4 separate regions of the Homo sapiens genome follow, and regions 2, 3 and 4 are each linked to region 1. The links are contacts of gene promoters, found by promoter capture Hi-C in human tissues and cell types (Jung and others, 2019). All regions are on one chromosome and are shown on one strand. The core of a region is centred on a gene start or on the middle of the fragment in contact, and the rest is flanking DNA. Distances in the headings are between cores, read along the strand shown. Region 1 holds the start of EML6 (EMAP like 6). Region 2 overlaps EML6 (EMAP like 6). Region 3 overlaps EML6 (EMAP like 6). Region 4 overlaps SPTBN1 (spectrin beta, non-erythrocytic 1).

Evidence for each region. Contacts are between HindIII fragments. The study calls those that stand out against the background at their distance.
Region 2: a fragment that was not itself captured here is called in contact with the fragment with the promoter of EML6 in region 1 in 2 of the 25 tissues and cell types used here (hippocampus and psoas muscle).
Region 3: a fragment that was not itself captured here is called in contact with the fragment with the promoter of EML6 in region 1 in 2 of the 25 tissues and cell types used here (hippocampus and mesenchymal stem cells).
Region 4: a contact is called between a fragment that was not itself captured here and the fragment with the promoter of EML6 in region 1, in 1 of the 25 tissues and cell types used here (spleen).

The regions. Positions count from the first base shown.
Region 1 is chr2:54,722,097-54,725,248 of GRCh38, reverse strand. EML6 (EMAP like 6) reads right to left here and starts at 1,587. Exons shown (of 42, transcript NM_001039753.4): 1 at 1,472-1,587; 2 at 1-700. The coding sequence starts at 187. RefSeq lists silencers at 384-533, 1,205-1,694 and an enhancer at 1,835-2,054. The HindIII fragment of the contact is 12,546 bases long and covers 1-3,152 here.
Region 2 is chr2:54,945,555-54,949,077 of GRCh38, reverse strand. EML6 (EMAP like 6) reads right to left here. Exons shown (of 42, transcript NM_001039753.4): 29 at 118-196. Among named protein-coding and RNA genes, the nearest start is that of RTN4, 100 kb to the left of the region's middle. The HindIII fragment of the contact is 3,016 bases long and covers 330-3,345 here.
Region 3 is chr2:54,891,042-54,894,131 of GRCh38, reverse strand. EML6 (EMAP like 6) reads right to left here. Exons shown (of 42, transcript NM_001039753.4): 18 at 2,978-3,078; 19 at 1,476-1,678. Among named protein-coding and RNA genes, the nearest start is that of EML6-AS1, 140 kb to the right of the region's middle. The HindIII fragment of the contact is 3,331 bases long and covers 1-3,090 here.
Region 4 is chr2:54,505,894-54,509,034 of GRCh38, reverse strand. The region is part of intron 1 of SPTBN1 (spectrin beta, non-erythrocytic 1); the gene reads right to left. It also overlaps the pseudogene C9orf85P1. Among named protein-coding and RNA genes, the nearest start is that of SPTBN1, 51 kb to the right of the region's middle. The HindIII fragment of the contact is 3,437 bases long and covers 1-2,987 here.

The DNA.
Region 1 (3,152 bases), core at 338-2,837:
CGTCGTTGTGTCCCAGGAAGAATTTTTGGCTGTGCTCGCGGGTGTTGTAAACCACCCCGACCCCAGCCACAAAGTAGACCACCTCCTTGCCTGCCGTGTAGTACAGGTTGTTGCGGCACTGGTGACCCCGGTACCCGTACACCCACTCCAGCCGGAGCTGGCAGCGGGGCGCCGTCCGATCCGCCATGATAAGCCGACCCCGCGCGCCCCCCGCCCCCCCGCGCGCCGGGGCCGTCCTCGCCGAGGCTGGGGCTGCGGCGGACCTGCAGGGGCTCAGCGCGCGGCGCAGGGCGCTGATTTCCGCGGCGACACACAGGCACAGCCCAGCGGGCCGGCCGCCACCATCATCCGCTGCAGCCGCCGCAGACAAGCCGCCGCCGCCGGTGTGCGGCCGCCAGACCCCGCCGGGCGCCGGGCTCCCTCTACCCGGGCAAGGCGGCTCTGGGGGCGCCGGCACCGGCGCGCGCGCCTCACTGCACCTGCGGGCTCCGGCCCCCGGGAGAGGCTCTCGGGGGGGCCACCCCGCCTTTTACATCAGGAATCTGCATATCCCAACAGCGATCACCCAGTTCGCTCACTGAAGTTTGCGGTGCGCCGGGGCTTCGCGGCAGGCGGCGGGATTTATTCTGCGATAGCCTTGATTTGACAGGCAACCCGGGTGAGCTCTGCCATCGCCGTCTTTGGATCCGAAATTGACAGTCTATATCCAGGAAGCGAGAGCGAGGAAGAAAGAAACAGATTTTTCGCATAAGTCACCCAATCCAAGAAAATTATCCCCAAACTAAACCAAGTTGGGTATTTTTAAAAATTGTCCCCTACTCCCGCTTTCTCTCTCCAGTTCCATCTCCTTAATGATATGAAATATGCGTAAATGCTGCTGCCTGGCAGTTGCTGATGCGATTTGAAGGAACGCTTGCTGTTTCCCTAATAAGCGAGGGCGAATATGCAATGGTCATTTTTTAGATGCTCCAATTAGTTTTCATGTGTGTGTTTAATAATCATATCCTCCGTGAACCTTCTCTTCACCGAGAAAGCCATAAAGAACTTAGCAGCTCTCATTGATCAGCAACTCCAATCCGCATCATGAAAGATTGTCTTACTCGGAAGAAACGAGGCACTAGTGCAGTCGGAGGGAGTGCGCTACCTACAAACGCTCCTGGTCGAGGAGAAATCAAATAACAAGTGGCAAAAATCGTGTACTTCTCCCCAGAAACCTCTGCGCTAAACACCGGGTCCCACGGAATCCCGGGTCCTGCCCTGAGCCCAGCGTGGAGAGGGGTCGCCCGAGGGACCCGGGGGACAGCAACCCCCCACAGACGCACACGTCCCGGGGGTCGGCGCGCTGCGCGAGGGATGCCCGCCCTCAGGACTGTTCGGCCCGCGCGCACTGCCGCCCTGGCGGCGCCCTGCACTCCTCCCACTCTCGAACCAGCCTCGCCCGCGGAGCATCCGCGCGCTCTCTGCCTCTAACCTCTGCTGCCAGCGGACGCCACCGGCGCGTCCCGGATCCCGCGCGGGCGAGCGAGCGAAATCCTCTGCCTGCCCTCCCCTCCCCGCCTCCCGCACCCGGGGATGGACTTCGTCACTGGGGCGCCGCGGGAGACAGGTTCTTCCTCCAGCCGGGGCTCCGGGGGCGGGGCCACAACGCCGCGCTAGTGAACCTCAGCTGCCGGTTACTAGGCGAGATCTCGCCGCTTGGAAACAGCGACGCCCCGGAGGACTGGGGCCGCCCCCTCCCTCTGCCTGTCCCTGTGGCCTCTTCCCCCGACGCATCCTGGGAAGTGTAGTCCTCTCTGCGCCGGTTAGGGCGGACAGCGCGCGGAAGGGACCACAAGTCCCAGGATTCCGCGCGCCCAGAGGGAGTCGCAGCGAGACCTGTACCGGCGTCAGCGGAGCCTGCGGCTCTCGGGGTGAGGAGATCCCGGCTCACCAAGGACGATTGCCTGCCCACGCGGGCGTTCCCTTGTGACTGAGGCGGGAGCTGGCGTGCGTGGGTCTCTGTAGAGAAAAGCGGTGGAGTTGGAATGGAGACGGTCTCCCAGCCCACCACTGGAATTTCTCCTTCATCGGTCTCTGAGTGTTGCTGTAACCGACATCCTCACCATGCTGTAACTGACTCAAGCTTAAGTTTGTTTCCTACTTAAGTTTTCCTTTTCATTCACATGGATTTTAATTTGTTAAAGTGCAGTTCTGCCAAGTTTAAGAAAAATGCTGGGAATGTGAGCTCACTTCTGCCCTAAGAACCAGCGTCTTCCCATGACCTGCGTCCTAAATTAGAGGACTTGGGTATTTACAGATAACCGGAGGTTGGAAGCAGGAAGGTGCTCACGCCATGAACAGCTAACCTTGGCCTTCAAACGCAGAAGCTGGTGGCATTTCTCCTAAAACTGCCCGAGATGAACTATGAATCCACTGTGTTCTCAAGTAGCCTATTTCCAATTTAGGGCCATAGCTAGTCTTTGGAAAGAGATTTCAAAATCCCAGTGACTAAGAGGCTGCAAAAGGATGATGGATTGGACGTTTGGAACGTCCTTTCCCTCCCATGCTTTCAGTGTAATCGCTTACTCAGTTCATCTCCCTCAAGTTTTAAGACAACCCTCCGACCTGGTAGGAAAGCTCGAAAGAACTGGAAGTGCCAGAGTTTGGATGATTTGTTGCTGCCCGCAGTAATGAGGATTTGAATTGGTCTCATCTTTGTTTTTAAGGAAACAGAATCAACAAATAAGTGAGATGGCACTGTGCTAGGCAACAAGAACACTGCCAAAAACAAAAACACGGCCTGAGAAAGGTTTGAGATAGAAGCAAAAATATAGTTGATCAATGATGTCGTGCCATAAAACAGTGCCAAATGAATTATATAAAGACAGTAAGTTTTTGTTGTTCTTTTTGTTTTGTTTTGTTTTGAGACAAAACAGGCCGTTGCCCAGGCTAGAATATCGTGATCTTGGCTCACTGCAACCTCCGCCTCCTGGGTTCAAACGATTATCCTGCCTCAGCCTCCTGTGTAGCTGGGATTACAGATACGCACCACCACGCCCAGCTAATTTTTGTATTTTTAGTAGAGACAGGGTTTCGCCCTGTTGGCCAGGCTGGTCTCCAACTCCCGACCTCAGGTGTTCTGCCCGCCTCGGCTTCCCAAATTGCTGGGATTA
Region 2 (3,523 bases), core at 588-3,087, 220 kb before region 1:
AGCCCAAGGGACCTACTCCGTTTCATTTGACTGTGTCTTTGGGACGTGCAGATGGGGATGTCTACCAGGTATGTCTTAGAACGTCAATATCAGACTACAAGTGATTGTTTAACTCACCTCAACCAGTTTCTTTTTTTTGGTGATATTGTTCTTCTGCAGTTTCTCAGGCTGGGGAGCTGCTCGGCTAACGGGTGGTCTGGAAGAGAGAGCGGCCAGAGGAAGCACAGCATTGAACAAGGGCTGCAAGGCTGCCTTCCCGGTGTGGCCTGTCTAGGCCAGTGCCGGCCTCCTCTCTCCTCCCGCCTCAAAGGCCCCTCCACTTGGATCTGTTCAGTCCTGCCCTCCTCTCTCACTCCCCGCCTGCCACGGGACCCAGCCTGAATTCACAGGCACTGGGTTGGGCCTCCCCACGCTTGAGGCACCGTGGTCAGGGTCAGCCCTCCTCCCTCTGCTTAACCTTCTCCTGGGAGCAGGGGGAGCAGGAAGAACATGTGGGCTTGAAACAAGAGGGGCTTGGTTCAAAACCAAGGAGAAGCCTGACCATGAGGGGCGGGAGGCCACATTTCCTGGACTTGCTGACCTTTTTCAGACAGGGATGTGCTCATGTTGTTCAGAATTAAGTTGTCGATGGCCATGGTGTGGCGTGAAGTGGCACTTACAAGCCAGGCTGCGGAAAGGGCCCTAAGGACCACAGGCCAAGTGCCTAGGTCGGCCTCACTTCTCAGACAGGCAGGCAGGAAGCAGAGGGACAGGAGACAGACAGCACTCCCGCCTCCCACTCCGCCCTCGCCTCAGGACTCGGGTCTGCATTCAGCTGCTACCACACCAAAGGTTGCTTTTCCCGCCTCCGTTTTGGGGTCTGGGGCCTCCAAATTTAATGAAGAGATTTTATAATGTGTAAGCCCTAATGGAATCCTAGAGGAGTACGCCAGTTCTTGGTGACGTGGGGTTTCCTTAAATCAGATTTCTCTATGGATGGGTCGAGAAAGAACTGTACCAGCTCCCACCGCATGTTCCAAAGTAATTAGTTATTGCTCCCGGGATATGCAAAGAGAAGGATTACCTTGATCCCCTTGAAAGCAGCAAACAAAGCCAAGTGAGAAACTTAGTACAGTTTAGAGCCGCATTAGCAACCACCTCATTCATGCACAAGCATTTTCCAAGTGAACAGACATTCCTGTGTGGCACACACCATGCTTCCCCAGCATGCCAGCAAAGAACTAAAACAGAAATGAAAGAGTGCACCAGTCTACAAATTCAGAAAGCTCATACCCTGGCGTCTCTGGGCAAACTCTGCACTAAAGCGCCTACAGAATAGGGAGAGAAAAGGAAGCTTTGTCAATGCTTCCCGCACACTCTCCGTGACTTTACGAATGCGCCCGGGGACTCTGCTTAGAGTGTGCTGGGGAGAAACTTGCTGTCAGAAAAACAATGACATCTTCCTGGATGTCGTGGGGAGTTATGTACAATGGATACTTTGTTTCCAAATCAAGTTCAACTCATAATTTAGCCTAATAATTCCCAGTGTTTCTTGGTAGGTCAGCCTGCCTGCTCGAATGGCTTGCGGGGGTTCTTTTTGTGTGCAGGGGAAGACAGGGTACCTTTATTTTCTCAGAAACTCTTCAATCAAAACACGTTATGTAATCATAAGTGATAATTGGACCAAACGGTATTATAATCACCACTGAAGAATGGGTAGACAGCACATCTCTGCAAAACGACACCCCCGGCTGACATCATCGCCACCAAATTGAGCAAAATCGGGAGACTGGGGGCATGCCAGTTCTCACAATTAGACACTTCCTTCACATTAATTATCGCTTCCCAGGACATCTGCTCTTTCTTCTGTTTTAGTGGGACTTTCAAATGAAATCCGTGGGTTTCTTCTTTCACCTAAGAACGTTTAAGTGTATGACAAAAGCAAGCCAGGGGCTATGAGGAGAGCAAGAGGACACTGGAACTATGGCATGGCTCATAAGGCATTATTTGAGGATAAACACAGGGCTCGATTTCAGGGGACACACAGGTTGTATAATATGTAATATATTATACAGTGAATATAGAGTATGCGTACAAGCACAAACACCGTGTATTTATATATACAGGAGATTGTATATATATACACAGACGCAATCCGATGCTTTTTTTTTTCACCTTGATTTTCAGAAAAAAACCGAAAGGTAAAGCAATCTCAATGTTTCTTTCTCATTTCGCAAGCATATGTTTACAGCTGTATTGCTTCAAAACTGAAGATGAGAGGAGCAAGGGGAAGAAACCTGCATTGTGGCAAATTCAGCGGATTTTAAGTATTGACCCTTCGCGGTTGTGGATTCTGCGTGAACACTTAGTACTGGATGTTCACCAAACACCTGTGTTTGTCTCCAGAGCGGTGTGAATACTTACTTGACAATTCCCTGCCTCCAAAGGAAAGCAAGTTAAAACACAATACAAGTATTAAAAGCTTCTTTCCAGGCATCTATAAACAGTGTTCATAACATCAGATGTGGGAGGGACTGCCAGAGACTTCACACGTAGCCAAACACTGGAGGTTTAACAGTTTTCCGTGGATCTAAATCCTTCTAGATTCAGATTCCATCAGAAATGGGACTCTGAAAAGCTTTGCTGAGGTGGGAAGGAGTGGAGGCATGAGGACATTCACTCACTTTCAGTCCAATCAGCTCATTAGAGTTGGTCATTCCCAGCTGGCACAGGACAGGAGTGCGAGGAAGGCTGTGGGCACAACCCGGCATTGGCAGGGAGACCCAGTGGGGCCAAGATCTGGGAAGGTGAGGGGGTGAGAGACTGGAGGTGGGAGGAGCAGAGACACAAAGGGGCCTGGTGGGGCAAGTAGGCTTTGAGGAGAATGGGCAGGGGGGCAGGGTCAGGGAACAAAGGAGAAAGAGCTTCCATTGGCAAGAAATTTAAGGAGGGAGCCTGGCAAGACAGCAAACAAACTGGATAATCAGGAGAGAGGGTGGCACACAGGCCGAAGCTCTGGAGAGCAGGAGAAGCCTGCCAAGAAGACAGAGTGAAGGCAGGAAGCCCAGGGAGAGGCTGTGAACTCCAGCCTGGGGCTTGGTGTTGAGTAACAAGTCGGCCCTGCTCTTCAGTGCCTGTGGGGAGAGTCACAACCCTGTACCCCCTGTGGAAACAGTTGGCACATTCTGTGGGCAGGGCAGGATCATGGGAAGGCCAATTCCTGCTGTCATCCCACTGCCCAGCGCTGGGCTGCTGAAGAGAAAGCTTAGACTCAACTAAAGATGTGGGGAGTCTTATCCTGACACGGGCTCTTGCCCTGCACAGACCCGCAAGGCAGGCCAATGCCTGGGTACTTGTCCCTCCTTTCCCCCTCCCCAAGGCACTGGGCTGACAGAGCAAGAGGTGGAGCAGAGCACACAATGACCTGAAATGTGTAAGAGCATTCAGGGCCAAAGTGCTCAGGGAAGCTTCTGAAACCACTGAGGTCACGAGTCAGTTGCAACCCAAGATGAGTACAACATGAGAGCCAACTGGGGAGTGAGGC
Region 3 (3,090 bases), core at 236-2,735, 170 kb before region 1:
AAGAAATAATATTTCCAAGTGTATAACACTAAATATCCTTATTCTTATATAGAATTTGTACCCAGGAAAATTCAATCCCCAAATTAAATTAAAATGCAATATATTATATTGTGATATCCTTGTCTTTTCTCATGATTTTGCAGCTTAATTTACCAAACAACAAGAGCTTAAACAAGTTACACCATATCTACTTCTGGGCCTACAGAAATTCTTTCTTCTTCTTTAATCTTTTCTAATACTTGCAGTTTAACCAAAAACATATGTACCAATAAAAAAACAAAACAAAACAAAACAACACCTTTGCCAGCAAAACAACCGTTACAGTTGCATACCTAACAAGAACCTACTTTTGTAGTAGAATCAACACATTTGCCTAAGGACAGGTAAAAGAAAATTGAGACATGGGTTAGGAGTAGTAGGTGGCTTCAACTGGAGGTCAGAGGGCACAGATGAAGTGGTACTACCAGCAACCTGGAAATAACTGAAAAGAAGTTGATATTTGCTGGCAAGTTGATTGAATAAAGTGTTTTAAAACACTGAAGGTGCTATGGTTTAAATATTAGCCCCCTCCAAAACTCATGTTGAAATTTAACTGCCTCTGTAACAGTACTAAGATGTGGGAACTTTCAGAGTTGACTAGACCATGAGGGGTCTGCCCTCATGAATGGATTAATGCCATTATTGTAGGAGTGGGTTCATTACTAAAGGATGATTTCGGACCCTCCCACTCTTATTGGCCCTTCAGCCATTGGGTAACACAGCAAGAAGGCCCTTCCCTGTTGCAGCCCCTTACTCTTGGACTTCCCAGCCTCCAGAACTGTGAGCCAATAAACTTCTGTTCATTATAAAGTACCTAGTCTCAGAAATTCTGTTACAGCAGCAAAAACAGACTGAGAGAAGGTAAGTGTAATCTTTGTAGAGGGACACTGCAAGGCAAGTAGACAGACCAGGGCAATTATGATGAGCTTGAATTGTAATATGGCCAATGAACAGCCTTCACTCTAACACTCTTGTTAAAGCTGAGCCTTTCTACACAGGAGCAAGTTGGTTATGGATGCAAATTTATCGTAGCAAATGGACGTCTGGAACAATAATGTAACCATTTGGTACTTTCAGGTCTCTGCCCATTGTGTCACCAAGGAGGAAGACAATGCTGAAGTATTTCTCAGGACTCTTCTGCTGCTAAGTGTCCACATTTATCCTGGCACTTCTTAAGGGACTCTCATGAGTGGGCGCCAGGAAGAGCATGTGTGGAAAAAGTGCAGAGAAGTTGCATATAAAGAAACAACTGTAAACGAAATTATAAAAATATCTTTGCTTTCCTCCCTATTGTCTCTTGACTGAGCTTTATGACAACTACTTCCTAATTCAGACAGGCCTGTTTTAGATACAGGCATCCTCTTGGGCCATCCTAAGACTACCTTATAATTTTAGAAGGCTGATGAGGAAAATGAATGCTGATACACAGGCCATACCTTATCCAGTGCATACATAGCAAACACAGGCCCATCATGAGCTTTCACTGTCTTCAGTAGTAGAATGTCTTTCCAAATAAAAATATCTCCAGTAGCTGCTCCTGAGAACACTAGATCTTCCATTCGTCCGTAAGAAACACACATCATTGTTTCCAATTTTCCAACGCTTCCAAAAGTTCCTCTTTTAGAAGTGAAGCCCCCACCTAGAGTGGACCAAGAACAGTTATTACTTTATAAAATCTGGCACTTCCTATAAGCATGTAGAAGGACTACTTCCATGAGAAACCTGGTGTCTCTCATTAGGTATTTATGTAAAGATGTCTAAAAGTGACAGAGAACATCATGAACAAAAATATTCTAAGAATATTTCTCATTTATTCATTAACTCAGTGTTTACTGAATCCCTACATGTGGTAAGTGCAGCGCTCACTGTTGGGATATGAAGATGAAAAGAGGGTTCCTGTATTCAAGGAACTCAGAGTCTGGCTGGAGAGAGCAATCAATATGCATCTCAGTCCAAGACATGCGTCTAACTGAGGCTCAGCACAAGTTCTGTGTCAGCCAAGAGAAAGAGTGACTAAGTGCCTGAAGGAGCAAGCAAAGTCTTCATGAATGCTGACCAAAAACGATAAAAATAGTACTGACTGTAAATGTAAAATATAAGCATGTTATATATGCTCTGCTTATTTATAACAGCTATTTTGGGGTGAGAAAAAAGAATTGTTTTGTAGGAAAAGGTAGTATACGGGACAAGCCATTAGATTTGTCCCTTACACATTCACATTTCCCCACACTCCCTGTCACTGAGAAACCCAGCTTTATTCAAGACAGCTACACACAGGCTGGCTCTCCAGACATACTGGGTGGCATTACCTTCTTTTAAAAGCAAAATGCACTGGAACAGAACCTTATTCACATTTTGTGCATAATAAGTTAGGGCTTGGCACCAAAGCTGATACTAAGAATTCAGATTCAATTGTATTAAGTCTGACTTATTAGTGAGAAGAATGAGATATCCTCTATGTTTTCTCATGCTTATTTACTCATCATTATTATCAACATTAAATCCACCAATATTTATTGGACCACCTATTTGTGGGCAGACTCAGGGTTTAATTCAGGTTTAAATTCAGTAATAGATAAATAAAGGAACCATCCAAATAGATAAAATTTTATTCACTCAACCAAAATGATTATTTTATTTCCTGTGCAGTAGTCTAACATAATTACTGCTTTCAGAACAGATGACTAAATATAAAAATGATTATTTTCACAGCAGAACATTTTCCAAAGCTTTCTAGGTATTGATGAATATGCATAGCGTCATATAGAGTGTTCTAAGCTTCAAGCGTTCTAAGCGAACTTGGGAGATAATTTTTTTAGGCACATTTTTATTTTAGATTGCAGAGACAAGCGAGGTAGTAGCAACAGTTTGTTTTGTTTTTCTTTCCAGCTAGGGTAAAGCTCTCAATCACATAAATGATAAACCCAAACGACAGTACCTGCTTGTTGCCAGAATTTGATGTGTTTTATCCCAACTGTAACCAGTTTGTCAACATGGTGTGGGTTACACTTTACCACAAATATCTTATCTTTATGTCCTCTGTAAGAGACA
Region 4 (3,141 bases), core at 20-2,519, 220 kb after region 1:
TGCCTTAACTTGAGCCCTCACTCTTGCAAAGGGACTACCCATCAATATTTATACTGACTCTAAATATGCCTTCCATATCCTGCACCACCATGCTGTTATATAGGCAGAAAGAAGTTTCCTCACTATGCAAGAGTCCTCCATCAATAATGCCTCTTTAATAAGAACTCTTCTCAAGGCTGCTTTACTTCCAAAGAAAGCCGGAGTCATTCACTGCAAAGGCCATCAAAAGGCTTCAGATCCCATTGCTCTGGACAACGCCTATGCTGATAAGATAGCTAAAAAAGCAGCTAGCGTTCCAACTTCTATCCCTCAGGGCAGTTTTCCTCCTTCTCATCTGGCCACTCCCACCTACTCCCTCGCTGAAACTTCCACCCATCTCTTCCCACACAAAGCAAATGGTTCTTGGACCAAAGAAAAATCTCCTTCCAGTCTCACAGGCCCATTCTATTCGTCATTTCATAACCTCTTCCATGTAGGTTGCAAGCCGCTAGCCCGCCTCTTAGAACCCGCTAGCCCACCTCTTAGAACCTCTCATTTCCTTTCCATCGCAAAAATCTATCCTCAAGGAAATCACTTTTCAGTGTTCCATCTGCTATTCTACTACTCCTCAAGAATTTCTCAGGCCCCCTCCCTTCCCCACACATCAAGCTCGGGGATTTGCCCCGCCCAGGACTGGCAAATTGACTTTACTCACATGCCTCGAGTCAGGAAACTAAAATACCTCTTGGTCTGGGTAGACACTTTCACTGGATGGGTAGAGGCCTTTCCCACAGGGTCTAAGAAGGCCACCGTGGTCATTTATTCCCTTCTGTCAGACATAGTTCCTCGGTTTGGCCTTCTCACCTCTATACAGTCCGATAACGGACCGGCCTTTACTAGTCAAATCACCCAAGCAGTTTCTCAGGCTGTTGGTATTCAGTGGCACCTGGTTTTTCCTCAAACTGCCACCCTTAAGTCTCTCTTTAAGTGGATAGAAGATCTTCAGTGGCAAGGTACCCTCCAATACTTTCACCCTGATGAAGTCCTATTCTTTACTTTTATACTTACTCTTATTCTCATTCCCGTTCTTATGCCACCCTCTACCTCTCCCCAGCTATCTCTATCACACTATCAATCTCAGTTACTCTCTCCTAGCCGTTTCTAATCCTTCTTTAACAAACAATTGCTGGCTTTGCATTTCTCTTTCTTCCAAAATCACAAAGGTCTCGACTTACTGCTAAAAAAAAAAAAAAGGGGACTCTATATTTTTAAATGAAGAGTGCTATTTTTACCTAAATCAATCTGGCCTGGTATATGACAACATTAAAAAAAACTCAAAGATAGAGCCTAAAAGCTTGCCAACCAAGCAAGTAATTACACTAACCCCCCTTGGACACTCTAATTAGATGTCCTGGGTCCTCCCAATTCTTAGTCCTTTTATACCTGTTTTTCTCCTTCTCTTATTCAGACCTTGTGTCTTCCATTTAGTTTCTCAATTCATCCAAAACCATATCCAGGCCATCACCAATCATTCTATACGACAAATGTTTCTTCTAACAACCCGACAATTATCACCCCTTACCACAAAATCTTCCTTCAGCTTCATCTCTCCCACACTAGGTTTCCATGTTGCCCCAGTCCTGCTCAAAGCAGCCCTGAGAAACATTGCCCATTATCTCTCCATACCACCCCCCAAAATTTTCCCCACCCCAACACTTTACCACTATTTTATTTTTCTTATTAATATAAGAAGACAGGAATGTCAGGCCTCTGAGCCCAAGCTAAGCCATCATATCCCCAGTGACCTGCACGTATACATCCAGATGGCCTGAAGCAACTGAAGATACACAAAAGAAGTGAAAATAGCCTTAACTGATAACATTCCACCATTGTGATTTGTTCCTGCCCCACCCTAACCGATCAATGTACTTTGTAATCTCCACCACCCTTAAGAAGGTTCTATATAATCTCCCCACCCTTGAGAATGTACTTTGTGAGATCCACCCCCTGCCCCCAAAACATTGCTCTTAACTCCACCGCCTATTCCAAAACCTGTAAGAACTAATGATAATCCCACCACCCTTTGCTGACTCCTTTTTTGGACTCAGCCTGCCTGCACCCAGGTGAAATAAACAGTCTTGTTGCTCAAAAAAAAAAAAAAGAGAGAGAACCAGATCAACCTAAACTTTACTTTCTCTGGAGAGACTCTTCTGAAACCCCTAGTCCCAGCCCAGGGCCTCTCCTGTTCTATGTTCCTACTGGTTTGTTGTTTTTTCATAGCACGCACTACGATGGTGTTTAAATAATTACCTGTGTATTTATTAAATGACTATCTTGCCTGAAAGTATACTGTACTCTCCAAGAACTATTGGGTATTTCTCTCTTTTTCATCAATGTATCCCTAAATATAGTGTCTAGCTCCCAGACAACAATACACAAATGTTTAATGAACAAACTTTATACTTAAAATTTTCTCAGCTTCGAAGAGTATTAGAAGCACTTTCCCTACCAATTCCTCTACTATCAAGAAGAAAAAATTACTCAGTTCATCAAGTGGTAAATTTTTTCAAATGTAAACTATAAGTAGAAAAAAAAAAACCAAACAGATAAGCTCTTGTAGATTGAGTCATCTATATTTTTTAAATTATATTTACATGAGAATTTTTAAGTTCTCTCACTGACCAAAAAGCTTCAAAAGCAACTTCAAATTTCTAAGACAAATTTTCACTGCTGTCTGAGCAGCCATGCTCAAGGGTGCCGGCTCTGGGACAGGTCCATGGCCTGGTCAGCCCTTTCCTCACAACCTCCGAAAGCACATGTAGCACGGGGAAGGTCCCAGGGCCAAGAGAGGATTCAAATTATTCAAGCACACATACAGTCTTGCATTCAGATTTTATTTATTTATTTATTTATTTATTTATTTATTTATTTAGAGACGGAGTCTCACTCTGTTGCCCAGGCTGGAGTGCAGTGGCGCGATCTTGGCTCACTGCAAGCTCCACCTCCCGGGTTGACGCCATTCTCCTGCCTCAACCTCCCAAGTAGCTGGGACTACAGGCACCCGTCACCTCGCCCAGCTAATTTTTTGTTTTTTTAGTAGAGATGGGGTTTCACCGTGTTAGCCAGGATGGTCTCGATCTCCTGACCTCGAGATCCGCCCGC